7 separate regions of the Homo sapiens genome follow, and all the other regions are linked to region 5. Evidence: promoter capture Hi-C in 16 types of primary human blood cells and fetal thymus (Javierre and others, 2016). All regions are on one chromosome and are shown on one strand. The core of a region is centred on a gene start or on the middle of the fragment in contact, and the rest is flanking DNA. Distances in the headings are between cores, read along the strand shown. Region 1 overlaps MIR3681HG (MIR3681 host gene). Region 2 overlaps MIR3681HG (MIR3681 host gene). Region 3 overlaps MIR3681HG (MIR3681 host gene). Region 4 overlaps MIR3681HG (MIR3681 host gene). Region 5 holds the start of TRIB2 (tribbles pseudokinase 2). Region 6 overlaps MIR3681HG (MIR3681 host gene). Region 7 overlaps MIR3681HG (MIR3681 host gene).

Region 1 (3,109 bases), core at 551-3,050, 550 kb after region 5:
TTAACATTGGAGTTAGTGGTCTGGGAAAGGCAGATCCAACCTTAACCTGGGTGAGCACAATCGAATCAGCTGCCAGTGAGGCTAGAATATAAGCAGGCAGAAAAATGTGAAAAGAGAGACTGGCCTAGCCTCCTAGCCTACATCTTTCTCCCCTGCTGGATGCTTCCTGCCCTCAAACATTGGACTCCAAGTTCTTCAGTTTTGGAGCTTCGACTGGCTCTCCTTGCTCCTCAGCCTGCAGACGGCCTATCGTGGGACCTTGTGATCGTGTGAGTTAATACCTAATAAACTCCCCTTTACATATCTATCCCATTAGTTCTTCCCTCTAGAGAACCCTAATACAGGTAGTGTCATCACAGCACACTACAGCCTTGACCTCCCACGCTCAAGCAATCTTCCTGCCTCAGCCTCAGCCTCCCAAGTAGCTGGGACTATAGGCACATGCCACCAAGTGTAACTAATATTCTTTTCTTTTCTTTTTTTTTTTTTGGAAAGATAGAGTCTATATTATGCTTCCCAGGCTGGTGTTGAACCCCTGAACTCAAGCGATCTTCCCACTTCTGCCTCCCAAAGTGCTGGGGTTACAGGTGTGAGCCACCCTGCCTGGTTGACCTTGATTTCTTGATCTAAGTCTAATTACATTCCCAAATCAACATTCTGCCATATAAATGGAATACTAGATCATTTCCCCTATTATTGGAAGCAACACTCAGCTTTACATATTATCTCAAGGGAAAAAAGTCAGGAAATTAAAGCTGATTGCTTTCATGTGCACCATATCCAGTAATTCCCAAGTCACCCCAAAGGAAGAGAGTATCCTTTTTGTACAGACAACTAAATAAAATCTTACAGAAGTCATATAACTTGTCCAAAATCACAATGGAGGAACACACGTGTGTCAGGATACCTGATTGAAATAATATTCATGACAGCTACTGCGGTGAACAAGCTGAGAGGAAAATGTGCAAGGGACTAGAACACTACTGTGTTTTGTGCCAGTGCTCACCTGTAGGTGACTTTGCTTCCTTCATTTAAAAAAAAAATTATTAACAGATTAGGTAGTAGGACTAGCCACCACTAAGCTATTAGAGAAGCATGACTAATGTGCAATGATGGAAAAGATGGTGTGTAGCAAAAGTTTCAGAGTACCATGATAATTCAAGGAAAGGAGAATTCCCGAAGATGTGCAATCGTTAGGGAAGGCTTTGTAGAGACCATGAGATTCAAGGTCACCAAATTGGAATAATGAAAAGCTTCTTCTTCTACCACTTACTGCCCGTGACATGAATAAATAACTTAACCTCACTTATCCCCAGCAAAATGGGGATGATTAGAGTCTGCCTTATATAGCAGCCTGCCTTACAGTAGAATAAATGAGATGATCTTAGAGAGCACTCAGCTTTGTACCAAGCACACCATCAGGACTCAATCCATGCTATCTATAAGAATAATCACAGCAAGCACCACATCAATAGCATCCAGGTTCAGAGCCGAAGCTCTTTCTCCCACCTCTATTTCAAAAAAAATACCCAGGGATCTTATGAGTCCTTTCTTAACCACTTCAGAGAGGAGTGAACAGCCTCCTCCTCCGCATTGCTGTTACCCGTGTTGGTGTTAGGTTCTCTTCTGATACCTGCATATGGGCCTCTGCCCCATCCGAGGTCTTCCTGCTTGTCTCATACATCTCTCCATCCTCAGTGCCAGTGCAGGGTCTGGCACATGTTAAATACTCAGTGGATGGTTGGCAAATACGCTAGGGATTTAGAGATAGGAAATGGACCTTAATTTTACAGAATTCACAGTGTAAATTTCAGATTATCCAAATAGCGATTTAGTCTATAAATATTCAGGGAGCACCTACCAAAGTACTAGCCCAGGTGCTCATATTCTGGAGCTAAAATTCTGTTTGCTTTCTCAGAAAAAGAGTCTTAGCCAGTGGAAGGACCAGACAAATAAACCAATAATTGCATCACATTACAGAGCTTTGAGCCCTCCAGATACCCCAGTCTCCTGACAAACAGAGGAATCCAAATGATGGCCAAACCCTTAGGCCATCATTACATGAACCATTTCATCTATTTTCTAAAGCTGCCATCATTCTGCACAAGGAGAACAGAATTGTTATTGAATATGACTGTGGCTAAGTCTCAGCTGGGGCAAAGGAAGACCTAGAAAAGCAAGAGTGACCCAGCCTCCACGGGAGTAACAGCAATGTCACAGGCCCATGTTAGCATGTGTGAGCGCAGGCATGTCAGGAGCTAAGCTGAGATCCAGGAGCAAGAGAAGGCCAAAGCCCCAGGGAGGTATCAGTGGGGGGCGAGCTCTTGAGAATGAGCGTGCAAGCTTTAGTGTAGCAAGAAGCTAGGGCCCAGTAGAGAAAGGGGAGTAGAAATAACCTCAACAGCTTTCTGCCTCTGCGCCTCTGGCTTGGCCAGCTCGGTGCCCAGGACCACCTGCCACACAGCAGGTTGCCGTGAGCCAGAGCATCCTAAATGAGGCGAAGTCTAAAGAACATGTTTTTGCAATTCTGAGATCGGTCGGGGACAGGGTGTTTCCGGTATTGAGCGGTTCAGACAGTGGAAGGCTGGCCGGGGGATAAAAGGAGAGATGTGTCACAAGAGAGGAGAGCACAGCACGATGGGGGGCAGCAAGGATGGACCCAGCTACTGCATGGCTGGAGGTGGCCGAGGGCAGGCAGGAGATGCAGTGGAGGAGGGACTGAAACTGAGAGGAAGGGGAATGAAGGAGGGGAAAGAGAATCTCCTACAGGAAAATGGGAACCAGATGATCCAAGCCCCTGGGGTACAAGCAAACATGGTCTATGACATGCAGGTAGGCAGCCCCCCACTGCAGTGTGGGGCCGTGAAGGGCACAGTGGAGACCAGACCAGGATAGCCCCAAGCCTGGGGGTGGGTCGCGTGCTCGCTGCCAATATTGGAATTCGTCCTGTGGGCTGTGAGCGTCCTAGCATTGATCACAACATTACAGAGAGTTTCCTTTCATCGCGTGAACCGTTGCCTTTCTTCCCTTTCCCCAAGAATGTAAGTGCTATGAGAGTTTTGACCAAACCTGACACATAGCACGTTTTTAATAAAATTTGCTAAATGAA
Region 2 (2,710 bases), core at 23-2,522, 530 kb after region 5:
TGCACAAGCTGGAGTGCAGTGACACAATCACAGCTCACTGTAACCTCAAATTCCTGGGCTCAAGTGATCCTCCCACCTCAGCCTCCAAAGTAGCTCAGACCACAGCTGTGCCCCCATGCCCAGCTAATTTTTAAATTTTTTGTAGAGATGAGGTCTTGCTATGTTGTCCAGACTGGTCTTGAATTCCTGGCATCAAGCAATCCTCCCCTCTCAGCCTCCCAAAGTATCTTGATAGGTGTTATACTGAAAATTCTATTAAAAAGTTTTGAATATGTTTATTTTTCATATTATCAATTTTTCCTTGTGTTTATTTTTCACAAAAACTTCAACATTTACACAAAATCCTCATTTTGATGTGTAATCTGACAATTCAGAGTGTTCACATTTGCATATTTATATTCTTTTTGCCATTTCCATTCCATGAGATCTGCTGGTCTGTGAGGTACCTCATTAAGTGCAGCTGTAACTTCCCCATGGTGAGCAAAGACTAGGAAATGGATAAATATCTATGACGGTTCCTCCTTGCAAAAGTGCAGGATTGGTTCAGCAGCTCTTCTGCTGGTGGGAATGGATAGCAATAAAGCAGATCAAAAAGAATGAACTCTCTTCCCTTCCTATTCTAAGAAGATGGTTCCCTTCATCTTTCACCACAAGGGTAATAAGCTCAGCCTCATTACAGAACCTGAGCAGCACCAATCTAAAACATACTGCATTTACTATGAGGGATTGGTGAGGCTAGCCCCTCTGAACAGTGGCTTCAGTCATTCTGTGGCCAAGGTCCTAGGAAATGACTAGAGAGATAAGATGCGGGACGAAGGATGAAGTCATTTTGGTCTGGCAACTAGATGGGGTCCCCAGACCCATGCTTCTCAAACCACATGTAGAGAGAGCAAGTTTGTTTGTCCTTAATCCTTAGAAGACCAAAATTTGAAAAATATATTGCAAATGAATTACCAAAAGAAAGATAAATAAATGAAATGAAATACGACAGTCAGATTTGTATTATTATATTAGATTTATATTAATATATTAGATTAATATTAGTATTAGATTATAAAATTGCTCTGTCAGTTTGCTATTAAAAGTTTCAAACAGCTTATTCTTAATTTCTGTATTAATTTCTGTAACAAGCAGACCCATCAACCACGCTCTGAGTAGCAATGCCCTGGACCAGGCTGGGCAGCCTGAGACCTTCTCTGGGTGGCAGTGGAAGGAGTGGCTATGAAAGGCAAGTTCAACCTAAAGAGAAATAGAGAACCCAGGATGAAGGAAACACAAACGGTATAACTCTGCCTAGTGATCGGGGCAAGAGGGAAGCAAATCCACACAGTGCAAAGTAATATGCAACTAAGCAGACAGTAAAGAGAAGAAAGAGAAGGGATGAGCTGATAGGAGCATCACAGCATCCCCCAAACTTCTGATCAGTACTGTAGCATCCACACAGCTAACTGGTTATACATGAGCTATGTGCTTGGCATCACTTGGATCACAGTTATACAGCATATGAGCTCCTTAGACTGAGTTCCATGGGAGAAGCAATGGCGTTTTCTTTCCTCCTTAAGAAGGAAGGTCAGGGTACTGGTTACATGTCCTTGCATATGTCACCCAAGTTAACCTGCCCTGATTTAAGTAGGAATCTGGAAGAGTGAGACACTCATTTTGCAGAGAACAATCAGAATTGCATTTGAGTTGATGATCCCATCCAGTGTGATTATAGGGTCTCTATAGGCACAGTGATTCCTAATGGATTTGTCTTAGAGATTTCTTTTCCACCATTGTTGCTGATGCCCTCAATGTGTAAATTGATGATCTGCTGCTAATGTCTTAGCCCCGCTACTGTTCCTCTTCATGCCACCTCTAGCTAGTACTATTGGTTTTACAGGAACTGTCGAAGTGGCAGGAAAATGTTTCCCCCCAGAAATAATAGCTTTGGGGGTTCTTTAGAATCTTGCCCTTTTCATTTTATAGTCTCTGAAGGGAAATAAAGAACATATTTTCCCAGGGACTTTACCAGTAGACATTTAAGAGCTGCCAACCATGCACAATCTTTATTAGCCAGAATCACTGTGCCCAGGCAGAAGACAGAACCCACATGCTTCAGCTGTGTCCCATCACTGGATGTTCAGGCTGCCTCCTCTGCATCCTGTAAAGTGTGGGCAGCCTTGCCTCCTGCTTTTCATTGGGAGTTGTATTCCAGGAGCCTGACTTTCAGCCCCAGCTTCATGCCTCATACATTTCAACAAACGTAAAATTTATCATTAAAAAATAACTCTGCACATCCAAATAGGCAAGAACTCCAAAGCAAGCAGATTGAGTTTCACAGCTCATAAACAACTCCCGAATACAGTTGGCTAAGAGAATTGATATCCACGTGACAAGGATTCTTCTCAAAGGCACTGTCCTCAATCCAATCACCATACCAGATATGTGTATTGTGTATTGTCTATTGTCCATTCATGCAAAAACCTTCTGTCTGAAGAATCCCGCTTAATAACAGCTAAGTGTTGATTACTTGGACGATGATCAGGAAGTCACGTCTTGAGCTTTAGGAACTACCAGGTAGAAAAGAGTGAATTCAAAAAAGTTCTAGAGCAGTGGTTCTCAACTGAGAGTGATATCCTCCTTCCTCCAACCCCCTCCTCCTCTCCAGTGACATTTGGCAATGGCTGGAAACATTTCTTATTTTCATGGCTGGGAGTGGGGGTTGCTA
Region 3 (3,138 bases), core at 309-2,808, 640 kb after region 5:
CCAATAGAATCCCCAGCCAAAGGTTGCCACCCCAAAACACTGCTGTATTCCACTGAGCAAAGGAATAAGAGCCACTTGCTATAAAGGTCCAGTCCTCCATGAAGGAGCCTGGTCACCCATCAAGATTTAGAGACATGGGCTTGAAAAGGTCATGAAAAAATCAGCTCTCACTTCTTGCACAATTTTCTAGTACAAAATTTTTCTTTGCAGAAACATAGCTTACATGACACCTAGATAGCAGCTTCTAATGTACCTTCTCTCAATTACCCAATGCCACCCCACCCCACAAAAAAAAAAAAAAAAAGCTTGCAAATACAGAAAAAAAGGTGAAAACTCAAAGCACACCAAACAACAAGCCTGACAGGCAGCTAAAAGTTACAATCTGGAATTTTCTCCTAAAAAGAACAGATTTTTAAGAAAAAAAAAAAATAGCCAGGGTTAAGCAAGTAGTAGACTCCCATTTCTCTAAATAACGGTGCCCTTTCATAAATCCCCAATATCATCCACTGGCCCAGGGACCCCAGGCCCATCCTCACCATGTATAGCCATCTGTCATATTAACCTATCATGTGGTAATCTGAGTATTGATCTCTTTCCTCAATCAAGGCTATGACCATCTTCAATCTCCACACCAAATCTAGAAAATAAAAAACAACTGGACATGCAAGTTATATAGAGTAGTGCTGGCGCATGTTATCTCAGAGGTTAGTCCCATCAAAGACAACTCCTGCCCAGTTGTTAGGCAGGAGTCCCTTGCTTTTTGAATATCTGGTTAAAATTGATTCAACCTCCCATTCTATTTCAGTGCATCGTAAGGGTACTCATATTCTCAAGAGCATCCTTTTTCTCCTGGCTCAGCAGGTGATATCTTAGCAGTGCTTCAACTCAGATCCAAAATGCCTCATCTTCCTTGATTCACCAACAAAAATTATTCTTTCAAAGGACCAGTGAATACAGCAGAATTTGCTCGAGATGACCTGGTTGGAGGCACAGAGAACAAAGGAGGGTTTGCATAGCAGAACTATACTGAATCAACCAGGTAACACTAAGCTAACAAATGACCCCCAAATCTTACTGATTTCCAATAATAAAGTTGTACGTTCATTCACCCTACATGCACATCACAGTCGGCCCTGGCTCTGTTCCCATTTTCTTCTTCATGGACCAAAGCCAGCAGAGCATTTGTTACCTGGAAGAGGGCCAGTCATCACAGAAGAGGGAATCACTCACTCACAAACGCTTAAAGCTTTTGCTTGGAAAACCACGCACATCAATTTCACTCATGACTGATTGACCAAAGCAAGTCACATGGCTGAAACTGAGTACTAAGAGTGTGGAGATGTATAATCCTCCCACAGACGGTGGCACCAAATATAGATGAACAGTAATACAATCTACCACATTAGCATTTTAAAATGCAGGAGTAGATATCATCATCTTAAAATACTTTGGCAAGACCCTAGGAGGCTCAGTAGTCCTCACCTCTCTACTGCCTCTTTCCCACCCTCCAGAGCAATACAATTCTTCCCCTTGTCTCATGCAAAACTCCTTAAATTTTATCTGTTGTCAATACACAAACCCTCTACCCCAACCCCTTATCTCAGAATTTTGTTCAAGCAAGGAATGTTGGTGTCAATTGCTAAAATAATGTTTCCTCTGTCTGATTACATGAGAAAATTATAATAATGTTCCCTCTGTCTGATTACATGAGAAAATTCTAAGTAGGAGTGGTAAAAAAAAGAACCCTGAATGCTGAAAATGGCAATTTTGCATCATAATTTGTGCCAATTCCAAATACCAGAAAAGCCACAGTAGGCTTAGGGAGAAGTTGCCATTTTGGAAGGGCAGAGGAGTGCCAAGAGAAAGCTTTCTAGAAGCTGGGCATTGGGTTTAGACCCACTCATGCCCATCTACCTTCAGCTCTAGCTCTAGCTCAAAAAGGATTCCAATAAAACCCATGAATAGAGAGCAGGGCCCAGGGCACTCTGTTGGCAAAGACCTATTCAAGATGTATCTCATCTTTGTTTTGTTTGTGAGGTTGGTAAAAGAAGAAAGCATCTTTTAGTGGGTTTATTGGCTCTTTGCATAACTTTCTTCTAAAGTGCATGTTCAAGCAATTTGTCCAATAAGAAAAAAGTCAAATAACTCTAATTTTTAAAAGGGGCAAGTGATTTGATCAGGGACTTTGCAAAAGTGCATGCCCAAGTGTCTAATGGACAAATGAAAAGATACCAACACTTATCTTTAAAAAATTAACTAAAATAAACAACAAAATTACTATAATATAAAGTTTTCGTGAGGATGTACTGCAACTGAAAATCTTAAATATTGAGAATATAAATTATTACAAACACAGTTAAAGGAACTAGTTGGTTGTATCTACTAAACCTAAATATAGACCTACTGTACGAACCACCCTGCCCAATCATAGTTTCATACCCAAGAGAAATGAGTACGTTTTCCCACAAAAAGAAATAAACAAGATTATTTACAGCAGGCTTATTCATAATTGCCAAAAGCTGAAAACAACCCCACTGACCATCAACAGAAGAATGAATACATAAATTGTGGTATAGTCAAATAATGGACTACTTATATACAAATTAAAAAAAAAAAACATTGATACACACATAATTTGGATGAATCTTTAAAACATAGTATGTGCAAAATAAACCAAAATAAAAAGTGCATACCACATCTATATGCAGTTCAAGAGTAAGAAAATCTAATTGACAGTGATTGAAGTCAAAATGTGATTATTCTGAGGTGGAGTATTGATGACGAAGGCGCAGAAAAGAACCTTCATGGGTCCTGAAAATATTCTCTGTCTTAATCTGTATGGTGATTACACAGATGTATATAAAATTTTATCAAGCTCTACATAAGGTGATCGTTCTTCATGTGCTTAGTCTGTGTGAAACACATTTATGCTTCTTATTTCACCAAAAAAATGGAAACTTTGCCCACTCCCATGAGAAAACTAATTTTCCCATTTCAAAAATAATCTTGAAACTGGGAGGTTTAAAAAACAATTCAGGGTGCATCTTGAAAGACTGGTAAAAATTGATCAGGTAAGAAAGAAAATCAAGTTTCAAAGACTGGGAAGCAAGACAAAATAAGAACCATTGAGTATTATAA
Region 4 (3,107 bases), core at 249-2,748, 620 kb after region 5:
TAGAGATGGGGTTTCACCATGTTGGCGAGGATGGTCTTGATCTCCTGACCTCGTGATCCACCTGCCTCAGCCTCCCAAAGTGCTGGGATTACAGGCATGAGCCACTGCGCCCAGTCAAAATATTTTGTATTTTAAAGTAAGACTGCAATAGGATTCAACCATTACGGTAATAATGGTAAAAATAATACCATATTGTAATCATCCTGTACATTTGTTCCAATAAAGCTTTATATTTATGCATTATTTTAAAATAGGTCATCTTGTGTAATTTCCCCCATTTTCTGAGAAGAAACAGAGCTCTGAGAGATTACGGAACTTTCCCTGGGTAATAGGCCTGTGGCCTCCCAGGGTCTGTAAGAAACCAGTGTCTATACTGGCCTAATACCCCTTGGAAGCTGTCTATGCTGTTTGTGATTATTACCAGACTGATTCTGTGGTAAGATCGACATGTTTTTCTGAAAGCTGATGATAATTAAAGAGTAAATTTGTCAAAAATAAATTGACCAAAATGACAAGTGTTCTCAGTCAAAACTTTCTTCACATAATGTTAATTTTTGAACACAATGATCCAGTATTCAAGCTTTGTATGAATCTTTTTAAGCATTGGCATCTGTGCCTCAGAATTTATTTTTACTTTTAAAACAATTGTGCGTATCTTTTATGTTGCTATAGGATTTGTTTTTCATACTTTTTCTTTTCTAATTCTAATTTACCTTCAACTTCAATTATGCTAGCTTCCACTTTTCTAAAAATGTTGTGACATATCTAATTTTCATGTAAAAGAAAAAAATTTCAAAAATAAAAGCTGAGAATCACAACTTCCAATCATGATGATTTCTTGGCAACTCTACATTGATTTTTTTAATCTATGTTAGTTTGTCCATTTTCTAAGTTCTTTTACTAAAATGTGTTTTAATTTTACATTCATTTCAGATAGCTATTCCTATTTTACTTCTTTTGATTTTGTTTTCACCATGTTAGACTCTGAATTTATTTTATTTTAAATTACTCTTATGTAATGTAAGCATAATTTTTGCCACCTCATGGCATTATATTGCCATCATTTGATAGAAATTCTGAAGTCTGAATTAAAGCCCTCGTAAAAGTTATGTTCCATGCAGATTTAAGACAAACCATAGGCTTAGAAAAATAAACCAAAATGAATGTTCCCAATGAAAGCATGTAAAGATTCACAAATAATTGAAAAGAACATGAGAAACATAATGAGAGCTCGAAGATAGGCAAAAGTATACACAATTACTCAATGGTGTGCCAAGTTACCAATGCATAAAAATATTTGGTTTTGTTCAATTTGTTCTTTAAAGTCATAGTGTAGGGTTTATTGGTTAAACATATGAATTCATAACCTAATGAATGCGTATTCATGATGCTGTGATTTTAGTGACAGATTATTAGGTAACTCCTTAATTATGCTGATAGGCTTCATTTATTTGTTCATTTTTGACAAGGAGGAGTTTTCACCCTAAAAGACATGTCAATTACCCTGGTCAAGAAATGAGACTGGCCTTAGGATCAAAAGATGGAAGAACTTCCTCATTCACTGCCAAGACAAAAAGATGTTGGGAAAGGGCTCTGTGCAAAAGGGCTGGAAGCCCTCCTGACTCAGCCACACTTGCACTGTGTGTGGCCACCAGTGCCATGTGATCATTTGTGAGCATGTAAACCGGAAGAGCTGTGGAGCTATAGAGGTGAGATGGAGATGTCAGATGGGAGCAACCATTACTAAAGCAAGTTCCCGGGACGCAGAGATACTGTCTTCTCCCCCTGCACCTTCTGCTAAACCATTGAGGGTGGCAGTTGCCCCTGCCATTGAAACACTCAGTATTTGGGCCACCAGATTTGTGTGGAGGTGTGTCCAGGCAATCAAAGATAACAGACAAGGCAGGCACTGGCTTCAGAGAAGCAACAACAGTTAAAGAGAATGGGCTTCTTCGAGGACCTTTTCCCGATATTCTCTCTCGTCACTCAGCCAGCCAAGACTAATTCCCTGAATGGAGTAAGAATGTCTGGGGTGCATGAAATGGAACTGTCCAAAGAGAGTTAGATCGGGGTACTCTGGGACAAGAGAAAGATACTCATGGTTGGCAAGGTGGGGGCTTGGAGATTTGATTTTTATATTAAAATAAATGTGCCTTCCTTTTGCACCCCAGATTAGTGGAGCAAGTTTTTTTTTACATTTATTCAACAAAGCATGATGTGCTGATTTTTATTATGTTGTATGCTAAAGACATAAGAATTAAAAGTTGATGTCCATAAGGGACTTGTCATTTAACAGGAGAAAATCTTTCTTAAACCTAACTCTAACTACTTCCCTAATTTACTTACCCCTAATATAGGTATAGTAAAATTAATTGTAACTCAATGAGTACAAGAAAATAATCTCAAAAAAGCTTTTCAACCCTTTGGTAGTTCTGATAATGAATATTGCAGTAAATTCATTTTGGCAAATAGTTATTCATATAAAGAACTGTGAATGCCACTAGGGACAGGGTGATTTATAGAGATATGGATAAAATTTATTTTACACCTTAAATAACAATAATGGTCATTATACAGACTAAAATGTTGAATACACAGTAGTGTTTTCATTGCTTACACCAACTTTATGAAGTAGATACTATTATTATCTCCACTCTCCAGATGTTGATTTCAGTCTAATGATTGACATGTATCCAGTTAATGGTAATACAAGGCAGGAAAAAAAATAAGGACGAAAGATATATATAAATAATGTAGTTAAGGAAAGGAGAAACAATTCCAGGGGGGGAGGATAAACCCGGGATGTAATAGAATAGTTATATTTCAGTTGAACTAGAAGAATGAGAATAAACTTCACCAGCTATAAATAGTTCAGTGTAAAGCCAACTTGCAATAACAGAACCAATATCAAGTCAACGCCCGTATCAAATAATCAGTCAAGATTTGTCTACTTACACAGAGCAAACTTTTTGTGCGGACTTGGTAAGCTCCAGCAGGAGCAGCATGTAATAATACTGTTTCTCATTTAGCCTGTGGTTTTTGTCCACTTTCTATTTACACATTGTGTTTCCAGGTCCCACAAAGGACAGAAGACAATGTTTTCTTTG
Region 5 (2,733 bases), core at 87-2,586:
CCGCTGGAGAGATGAGTCGCTGGCGAGTGCGGCTGCAGGCGCCTCGGTGCCACTGATTTTAAAAGGGAGCGAGAGGGGAGGGGACAGAAGAGGGGCTGCGTGGAGAAAGAGTTAGAAGCCCCCAAATGGGCGCCGCCGGATACCTCGTCTGCTCCGAGCCCGGCTCCCGGGGGTCCTCGGTCGGCAGGCAACTCGGGTCTTTTTGTTACCCCAAAGCAGTCGGCGATGTGCAGAATCGCCGCACTTTTAGTTACTCTGTGTGTGTGTCCCCGGCGTGGATCTGGATGAGTACCCGGGCTGCTAAGGTGCGGAGCTGCAGCGCCAGGGCTCCCGACGCGACCCCCAGGCCGGCTTCCGAATCGCAGACGGGGCGGAGGAGCCCGCGGTAGTTTGTGCAGTCTTCGGGGAGCTCACGGCGGCGACTCAGTCCCAACGCGTTAGAAGCCAAACAAAAAGAGAAAGGAAACAAGCACGGGTCTACCGGCTGGCGACGCACGGCAGCCAGAATCCGCGCTGCACCCCCTTTTTTTGGTGGAAAGGGTGGGGGGCGTGTAAGGGGGGGGTGCGGGAGAGGGCAGTTACCTACGTTTTAACTGTAGATGGCGTCTGAGGCTTTTCCAAGATCGCGAGCTCTCCAAAAATTAAACAAACAAACAAAAAAAAGAAAAATTGCAAGGGAGCATTTAACTTGGTGCGGTCAGCGCTGCCAACAAAAGATTGCAAAAGCTGGGCACAGAGTTGCGGCGCGGGCTGGGCGCAGGTACCGCGACAAAGCCCTGGGCTCGGCCCGCCGCGCGGAGGTCAGCACAGGCTCATGCTGTCGCCGCTCGCTCGCGCCCCAGGTCTTCCTCCGAATGCAGCCAGACGTGCAGGAGAGAACGAGGACAGATCGGCGGTCTCCGATTTCGCCGGCACGAGCTTGCGGGGGTCCTGCGGGCGCTGCAAGGGGAGCTGCGTCCCTGGCCCTTCCAACGCGCGGCGTTCCTTTGCCCCTTTCCCGCTGGAGAACTGGATCTCGTCCTGGAATAATTTGCAATCACCCCGTCTCCCCCTACCCCGAGACCAAATTGCCCGGTGGGGTTTGTTTTGGAGAAAATTGACGGCTTGTCTCCTCCTTCTTTGATTTCTTGCTTGCCCCCCCCAGAGAAAAGAGGGGACCGTGTATTTAAAAATTAAAGGGGACGGCCGACGGTGCCCGAGGCCAATCCCCGCGCTCAGCACGCCCGCATCCCCCGGCGAGGCGGTATTAATAGTTACTTACGTGGCCGGGGATCTCGGAGCGAGCGGGGCCGTGAGTGCGCGTGTGCGCGCGCGCGCCTCGCTCGCGCTCGGTCTCCCCATTCAATGTCACCGACACATTTCCACGGAGCCTCCGCCCCCCCCCCGCCGCCCCCGCGACTGGCTCAGCCCAGAGCCGGCCCCGCCCCGCCCCCGCCCGGGCCCCCCTCATTGCGCCGGGCGCCCATCAATCAGCCCCGCCGCTGCCAGTCCTCGGGCGGCTCCCCGCGCCGCTGCCATTGCAGCTCCGTGCCGGGGGCGCCAGCACCGGCCTCGCAGCTCCCTCGCCCGGCCGGGGAGGTAAACAAAGTGAAATATCCTTCCGCGGCCCGGGGCCCCGGGCGCAGCACCCTGGGTGTCGGCTGCGAGCCGGCTGCGAGCCCAGCTGCGGGCGGCTGGGCCGGGGTTACCAGCAGCGACTCCCGAGCCGTTCCCCACACGCTGCTCCCGCAGCGCCCGCTCCAGCTCTTCGTAGCTCGTTCATGTTCCTGGCGCTTTTCCCCAGAAAGCCAGGCACGCTCTGAGCATTGGGCCCCCAGGCTCAGATGTGGCCCTGAATGAGGAGCTCTGTTTTGGAAGAATGCGCTTTCATCGGTATTGCTGCCTGGAGTTTCGAGAATTCGTTTCATGGTATCTCTCCGACATCCTCCTCTCCATTTAAAAGGAAATCCATTGCTTCCTTTTAGTTGGTGTCACCGCTTGCCCCCGATCCCCACATCCTGGGCTTGTATTTCTAGTGTTTTCAGCAGAAGAGGAACTGAAGGCATCTTTTGATTCAGGTCAAATTTAATCACTAATTCTTCCCTTCCCAGTGCATTGCCTGGAGGGCCTTGGAGGCCAAGCTAGACAAAACTTTGCACCCACACCTCCAGGGAGCGCTGTTGGGTCCTATCCAGGGTGCTGGGCGTCCTGAGTCCTCTTCTGTTAGCCAGGTGAAGGCTGCAGTTTCACGCCCCACTCCACCCCCCATTTCGCCACCCCCCCCGAATTATTCGTAACTTCCTTGGGAGATTCCAGTCCGCGGGCTTGGACAGGAACACCGGAAGCAAGGGGCTTGAACTCAGGCAGAGGCTTCAAACGCCAGCCTTGATCTAAGATATCCTGGTGAATGAGAAGCGATCTAGTAGAGGACAAACTTAAAAAAAAAAATCCCAAGGAACTGAGAAAGGGGAGTTGGGACGACTCCTGGAGCCCTCTGAGCTTTTGCATGCGTGTAGTATATTTTCCACTGGAGGAGGGGACTAAATTATTGTCCACTGTAGGACACTTTCAGTAAAAGAAGGGAGCTATTTATAATTATGTCCACTTGGGACAACAGTCACTCTAATGATCAGGAGTCCTGGGAATGTGGCCAGAGATGGAGAGGACATTGACTATAAAGCTTCCACCCAGCAGCACAGAGTTAAAAGGAAGGTTAAGAAGTGGACCCGTGCCTTCCAGCACCTCTCACCATCC
Region 6 (2,829 bases), core at 164-2,663, 600 kb after region 5:
GCAAACTAGATTCTCCCTGTGCATGCACTTAGAATTAATTTATGCCCTGCCAAAAGCAGCCAACCATGGCTGTGTGTCTGCCCTTCAGAAGTGAGAATGTTTGCCAGGTGCTCCCAAGGGCAGGTTCTTATTTCTTTGTAATATTTCCACAAATGAAGAAATTTTCATTCCCAATAAGTATATCCCCATTGACTGCCAGGGCTTGCAGTTTTGCCTTCTCCTTTTGAAAACTGCACACCCACTACTTCATTCAGAGGGCCTGGAAGACATCAGCTTGACCATTTGCACACATTAAGCAAAGCCATGCAAATCACATCATGTCACTTTGCTTCTTTGACTCTCCCACTTGAAATAACATCCAAACTCCTGACTGGGGCCCACAAGGCCCAGCACGATCTGTCCCTGCGTCCTTCCCAGCTTCATCTCCTGCTACCTTGGCCTTCTGCTCACGAAGCCCCAGGCACATTTAGCCTCTGCTGGTTCCTAGAACATGCCAAGCTTCCTCCTGCCTCAAAGGCTTGTTGCTTGCTGGTCCCTCAGCTGGGAATCTCTCTCCCTGGCATTTCCAGTGGCCAACTCTTCTCATCGGTCAAATGGGAGATTAAATATCACCTTTCCTGAAAGGGCTTCCCCCATGCCACCCCATTCTTACTGAAGTAGAATCTGCCTCATTGTTCTCTAGAGCGATGTCTAGAACATTGCCAATTCTTTTGCAGCGCCAATTTCAATAGGAATTGTTCTGTATAGTCATTCATTCATTACTTGCTGTCCTTTGATGATGTCAACCATGTCTGCCTGACATTCTGTCACCTCCAACACCATACATCATAACAGAATAATGCAAGAAAGCAATTTCTGAGTGCTTGTCAAGGGCCCAGAACTCTCCTGTGCTCTTTACAGGCATTGCCTCTTGGGGGATATTTACCATCCCCACTTTACAAATGCGAAAACAGGGCATCAGTGACTTGCTTAAAGTCACACAGTAAGTGTCATACTTAGGATTTGAATCCCTATTGTCTGACTTCAGCATCAATGATAATATGATTACAACCCAAAGCCATACAGTATGCAATAAATACATTTCAAATAAATCAATATTTAAAGCAATAATGGCAGACCTTATAATTGCCATGATTGTATGTTGCTAGAAGACTGGAATCATGTCACGTATCCCTTTGGTGTTTTCCAGCACCCATCACAATGCTGCAATGGAACAACTGAATTGAAGTTTGCAGAAAGTGGGACTGTAGTAACAACTCGACCCATGGCAGTTGTCCTGAGTATAATGATGTTAAGCTTTTAACATGGATCAAATCCCATAGTGTGCAGCATATGGAGTATTTCAAGATTATTAGGCCAACTCCTTTCTTTACAGACTCGTTTGCTCTCAAGACCATATCCTTGCTTAGCCTGGCACACCCGGGTCTCCACGACCTGCCCTTGCCCCATCTCCAACTTTTTCCCCACTTCAGCTCCCCTAGCAGTCCTGGTGTCAATGGCCTGTTGACTTTGTTTTGTCATGAAGCTTGGGCTTTAACTTTCCCAGTGGAGAAGCTACTGAGGAGTTTTATTTCGGGATGTGGCATGGTTTGATCAGGTGAATTTAGGTGGAATACTGCAGACTAGATTGGAACTCATAGCCTGGGCCACCATCACGGGTGCACAGCACTTACAGGTATATAATAAATCACTGTGAAAGGAAGAAAACAGAGAAGGAATTGCCCTTGGAAGAAGTCAGCTGAGTGATGATGAGTAATCAGCTGAAGAACATGGTCTTTGATTTCTGGTTACAAATATAAGAGCATCCTAAATGAGGCAGATTAAAAATTAATAATTTGGAGGATGTTCTTCAGGTTGTACAATTTCTCTGTTAACCTACTTAGCACGTCACCAGGCAAAACCAGAGAAAAATAAGACGGAGCTCCCAACATCAAGGAATTCACAGGACAGAGCTGACCTAAGAAAACCCGTGGCCCAGTCAGGAGGAAAAGGAGAAGGCAAGGGAAACACAGCCCTACCCTGGTGCCGAAGAGCCCTGAGTTCCAGTCGTGCCTGGGACTCCTTCATAACCTGCCTGGGGTTTACCAGTGGAAAGCCACAAAGCCAGCTGAACCTGAACCTCAGACTCCAAACCTGTGCTCTTTACAACAGGAATAAATCAGCCTCCCTGATCCTCCCCCATCACCCACCTCATAGGACTGTGTGAGAGCCAGAAAAATCTCTAAAGAGCTATGCATCACATAAGTATTTCTGTACAAACCTCAAGGCTTAGAAATGAACTACCTGTAGCTCCCAGAGCAGAACCCTTTGGCAACGTCACATTTTCCTTCTCATGTGTTCTCAATATTTAAATCAACCCCTTGAGAGGCTCATGTAGCAAATGGGCTGTATTTAGTGGGCCCAGAGACTCTAGTGTCATCCTCTACCCTCCTTTTCCCTTTTCCTCTCTGTTGCTCTCCCTGTTTGTGCAAACCACCTAAAATGATTTCTATGCTTTACCAGAAATAGAATGTTAAACACTATTTTATTCATTACCAATAATAGCCTGTTTTTTGGTTTTGCTTTGTGTTTTTTGTGGTTTGTTTGTTTTTGCTTTTTTTTTTTTTTTTTTTTACTATGAAACCAGCATGCACTTAAAAACAGTGTGGTGGGCCTTCGTTTTCTCTCATATCAAATAATTCCTAAGGCTTCCTCTGGCTCTGACACTGTGTGCTTTTTCCTATTCTAAACATGCGTACGGAGTTCATTACCCCTGCCATGGTTTGCACTGTTTTAAGAGTCCTGCTCTAAACAGATAGCAGCATTCTCATTGACCGTGTTCAATTCTTT
Region 7 (3,047 bases), core at 191-2,690, 660 kb after region 5:
CTCCCTGGAATTAATGCAGCAAAGGCAGGCGGTGGCCCCAGGCAGTATTCCTAAAACTTCTAAGAAGGAGAGACATTTTGTTCTTGAAATGTAAATACAATACTTTTCACTTTATTCTTTTAAACACAACTTGGCCCTGAAAGTTGATCTATTAAAAGGAAAGCTCGCCTTAGCCAAAATGTCTAAATCCCACAACTGAAAATGCATTCAACAAATAGCCATTATTTCCTATTTATATAAACATTTCTTGTTCCATGCTCTAAAAACTTTGAAAACCTTCAGAAGTTAGGCTGTGTCAATGTATTGCAAGAGGACTGTCAAGGGGAATAAAGATGTAGTGCTTTCCAAATAACACAATTTCATGAAATCCCTTTTTTAAAAGCAACTTGTATCAATACTTCAGTTCAAATGGAAACATCTCAAGGATAAATTCCTTGTAACTTGGTAGTTACAGAAATTCTTTGTAACTTGGTAGTTACAGAGAAAAAGAATGGCACTGTGTTTCCAGACTCTAAATGTTTAGACAAAGCCTAAGAATTGTGCAATTCACATTGCACTTTAACTGGGCATCATGAATCCACTACTCTAATCCAAGTTCGGCCACCTGGAGCAGGTCACAACTATTCTCTGGGCTGAGCTTCCCTCACTGGAACAGGATGAGAGTAACCAAGGGGTCTCTCTACCAGGATTCTGTGAATTCTTTGCAACATATCTAAAGAACCCAAATATATTCTATGACCCTGGAGATGTATTTAATCCCAGAAATAAACAACGCCTCTTCCCTTCCAAAATATACACTTTCTTTTGAAAAATAAATCTCTCCCAAGAACGTATGGAAGGCATTCTTTTTTATAGACCCGTCTAACATTATAGCACTAAGTGTTTCCACCTGTACCCAGCATGGACGCAGCCACTTAATCAAGATGTGATTATCTAGCTCAGAGTTTAGCCAGAGTATGTGTTTTAAAGAAATGGAGAGCTGAGCTATGTGCTTAATGGCAAAGAATTCCTGGTCTCCAGAGGACTCTCTCTCCAACATCTTTATTGGCAGTGAACGTTCAGAAGGTCATAAGCTTTCAAGGACAAATATATTATAGCCATAATTAGAAAGGATTGGCAGCACAAACATCACCCCTCATGCTCTCCTGCTCAGCAAGTCCTCGTGGGTCCTACCTCTAAAATATGTCAAGCCTGTGCCCTGAAAATCCCTCAGTTGATGCTCTTATTCAGAATCCCTTTCCTCTCTTTTTAGTTAATGATCTTGCCTCCAGGGCCCCCCTTTCTAAATCATCCTCCATGGAGCCAGAGTAATATTTATAAAACAGAAATTTGACTATATCACTTCTCTGTTTAAAAACCTCCTAAGGCCACTCCACAAGATTGAAGTTGAAACTCTCTCACTTTTAAAGAACTTTTGGAGAACTATATGATGTGGTCTCACCTGCTTTATGTTCTAGTCTATGGTTGGCAGATTTAGCAAATAAAAATACAGAACACCAGGTTTAAATCTACATTTGCATAAACTGAAAATAATGTCTTTAATGTAAGCATTTTTCATGCAATACTTGGGACATGCCAAACATATTCATCATCTATCTGAGATCCGAATCCCACTGGGCCTCCTGTATGTTATCTGGCAACAGCACTCCAGTTATACTGCTCTAATCATTCTTTCCCAAGCCATGCACTTGCCTGCCCTTGTGCAATTATTCATGACACTTTCACTACCTAAAGTGCTACTTTCTCCTTCCCAACCTGAAAATTCCTATTCATCCTTTATATCCCGGTACATCTTCTGTAAAGCTTCCCTGACAGCCAATATTCTAATTAACCACTCCCTTCTCTGTCCTTCTTTATGTATCTGCCCTTCTATACTCTCCACAGTGCTTTATAATTACTTATGAGTCACTCTCTTCCACTAGACTGAAAGATCCTTAAAGTGCAGGGACAGACTTTAGTCCATCTTTCACCTCCAACCCCCAGCTCAAGACCAGCATAGGATAGAGGCTCAATGAACTGTATTAAATGAATGAAGAGTAAACCACTAAATAATAAATAATGGGTATGACTTCAAACACATTCTCCCACTCCTCATGAAAGTGGAATTCTGTGAAGAAAATCATACAATATTTTTAATGATTTAAATCCTCTTCACCAAGAGACAGGGCAGGGGCCTCTGGGACAAGTTCCCAAACCACAAAAGTAAACATCCCCTCCCTAGAAGTGTTTCCACCCTTCATACTCAGCCCAGCAATGACTGCAATGCATTCAAGGTCCCTATTAGTGGGTAGGCTCTCCATATCCCCTGGTTCTCTGCAGTTTTTAATCTTGTCCATCTGTTTCCCAAATGTGAGTGTGGATTGCAATTGTCCTGAGTAACCAGTAATTTGTCTAGAATGCTCAGAACTGTCCTTGTCACCTGCCCCACTCACTCTCCCACAGCACTCTGCTAGCCCCTCCAAGGTGGACTTACTCCTCTTGCTTTCTGCTCTGGGCTGTTCGAGGTGGCAGGTCTACCTCTCATACCCCATGGTCAGCACCCAGCGAAGACACACTGAATACACCTGGCACATGCACAGTCTCCCCCTTGAACCCAGTGCCTCCTTATTCATGCCAGTGCCCCTCCCTGCCTGACCTCCTGGTCTCCATCCAGTCTCTCCTCCGTAAGCATTGATATTCATCCCCAGAATGGAGCTCCTTAAAGTAGTATACAATCTTAAGCATCTGCAGAACTTCTGTGGTTCATTCATACTATATTTTTGTTATATGAATGAATGAATGAATCATGCTTGTTCAAGAGCCATTCATTGAGAATCTAGTGGGAACCTGGCTACAGGCACATGATAATGATTACAACATAATTTCTAACAGCAAGGAGTTTGAAATTTAAGATAGCAACACCAATAGTTTCAATCTTTCCTGGACATATATTCAACTTCAAAGATAATTTGTTATCACACAGAAGACATCCAGTTGGTGGAAGAAAGGAAGAGTATTTTTTTAAAGAAGGATCTTCCTGACTGCTTATGCATTTACCCAAAATATGA

The links. Contacts are between HindIII fragments. The CHiCAGO score rates a contact against its expected background, and 5 or more counts as called.
Region 1: a contact is called between a fragment that was not itself captured here and the fragment with the promoter of TRIB2 in region 5, in 4 of 17 cell types (fetal thymus, megakaryocytes, endothelial precursors and 1 more). The highest score is 10.5, in fetal thymus.
Region 2: a fragment that was not itself captured here is called in contact with the fragment with the promoter of TRIB2 in region 5 in 6 of 17 cell types (neutrophils, erythroblasts, fetal thymus and 3 more); the score reaches 8.9 in neutrophils.
Region 3: a fragment that was not itself captured here is called in contact with the fragment with the promoter of TRIB2 in region 5 in 2 of 17 cell types (erythroblasts and total B cells); the score reaches 5.4 in erythroblasts.
Region 4: a contact is called between a fragment that was not itself captured here and the fragment with the promoter of TRIB2 in region 5, in 1 of 17 cell types (erythroblasts). The highest score is 5.4, in erythroblasts.
Region 6: a contact is called between a fragment that was not itself captured here and the fragment with the promoter of TRIB2 in region 5, in 3 of 17 cell types (fetal thymus, non-activated CD4 T cells and total B cells). The highest score is 6.3, in fetal thymus.
Region 7: a contact is called between a fragment that was not itself captured here and the fragment with the promoter of TRIB2 in region 5, in 5 of 17 cell types (erythroblasts, total B cells, naive B cells and 2 more). The highest score is 8.8, in erythroblasts.

What each region holds. Positions count from the first base shown.
Region 1 is chr2:12,163,340-12,166,448 of GRCh38, reverse strand. The region is part of intron 2 of MIR3681HG (MIR3681 host gene); the gene reads right to left. Among named protein-coding and RNA genes, the nearest start is that of MIR3681, 34 kb to the left of the region's middle. RefSeq lists an enhancer at 2,631-3,109. The HindIII fragment of the contact is 1,090 bases long and covers 1,256-2,345 here.
Region 2 is chr2:12,181,227-12,183,936 of GRCh38, reverse strand. The region is part of intron 3 of MIR3681HG (MIR3681 host gene); the gene reads right to left. Among named protein-coding and RNA genes, the nearest start is that of MIR3681, 17 kb to the left of the region's middle. The HindIII fragment of the contact is 5,400 bases long and covers 1-2,710 here.
Region 3 is chr2:12,075,128-12,078,265 of GRCh38, reverse strand. The region is part of intron 2 of MIR3681HG (MIR3681 host gene); the gene reads right to left. Among named protein-coding and RNA genes, the nearest start is that of MIR3681HG, 70 kb to the right of the region's middle. The HindIII fragment of the contact is 620 bases long and covers 1,249-1,868 here.
Region 4 is chr2:12,092,851-12,095,957 of GRCh38, reverse strand. The region is part of intron 2 of MIR3681HG (MIR3681 host gene); the gene reads right to left. Among named protein-coding and RNA genes, the nearest start is that of MIR3681HG, 87 kb to the right of the region's middle. The HindIII fragment of the contact is 1,831 bases long and covers 583-2,413 here.
Region 5 is chr2:12,715,539-12,718,271 of GRCh38, reverse strand. TRIB2 (tribbles pseudokinase 2) reads right to left here and starts at 1,336. Exons shown (of 3, transcript NM_021643.4): 1 at 1-1,336. LOC124905974 (a long non-coding RNA gene) reads left to right here and starts at 1,514. Exons shown (of 2, transcript XR_007086222.1): 1 at 1,514-2,733. RefSeq lists enhancers at 869-938, 787-1,426 and silencers at 1,379-1,438, 1,529-1,748. The HindIII fragment of the contact is 5,863 bases long and covers 1-2,661 here.
Region 6 is chr2:12,110,745-12,113,573 of GRCh38, reverse strand. The region is part of intron 2 of MIR3681HG (MIR3681 host gene); the gene reads right to left. Among named protein-coding and RNA genes, the nearest start is that of MIR3681, 87 kb to the left of the region's middle. The HindIII fragment of the contact is 229 bases long and covers 1,299-1,527 here.
Region 7 is chr2:12,058,957-12,062,003 of GRCh38, reverse strand. The region is part of intron 2 of MIR3681HG (MIR3681 host gene); the gene reads right to left. Among named protein-coding and RNA genes, the nearest start is that of MIR3681HG, 53 kb to the right of the region's middle. The HindIII fragment of the contact is 730 bases long and covers 1,076-1,805 here.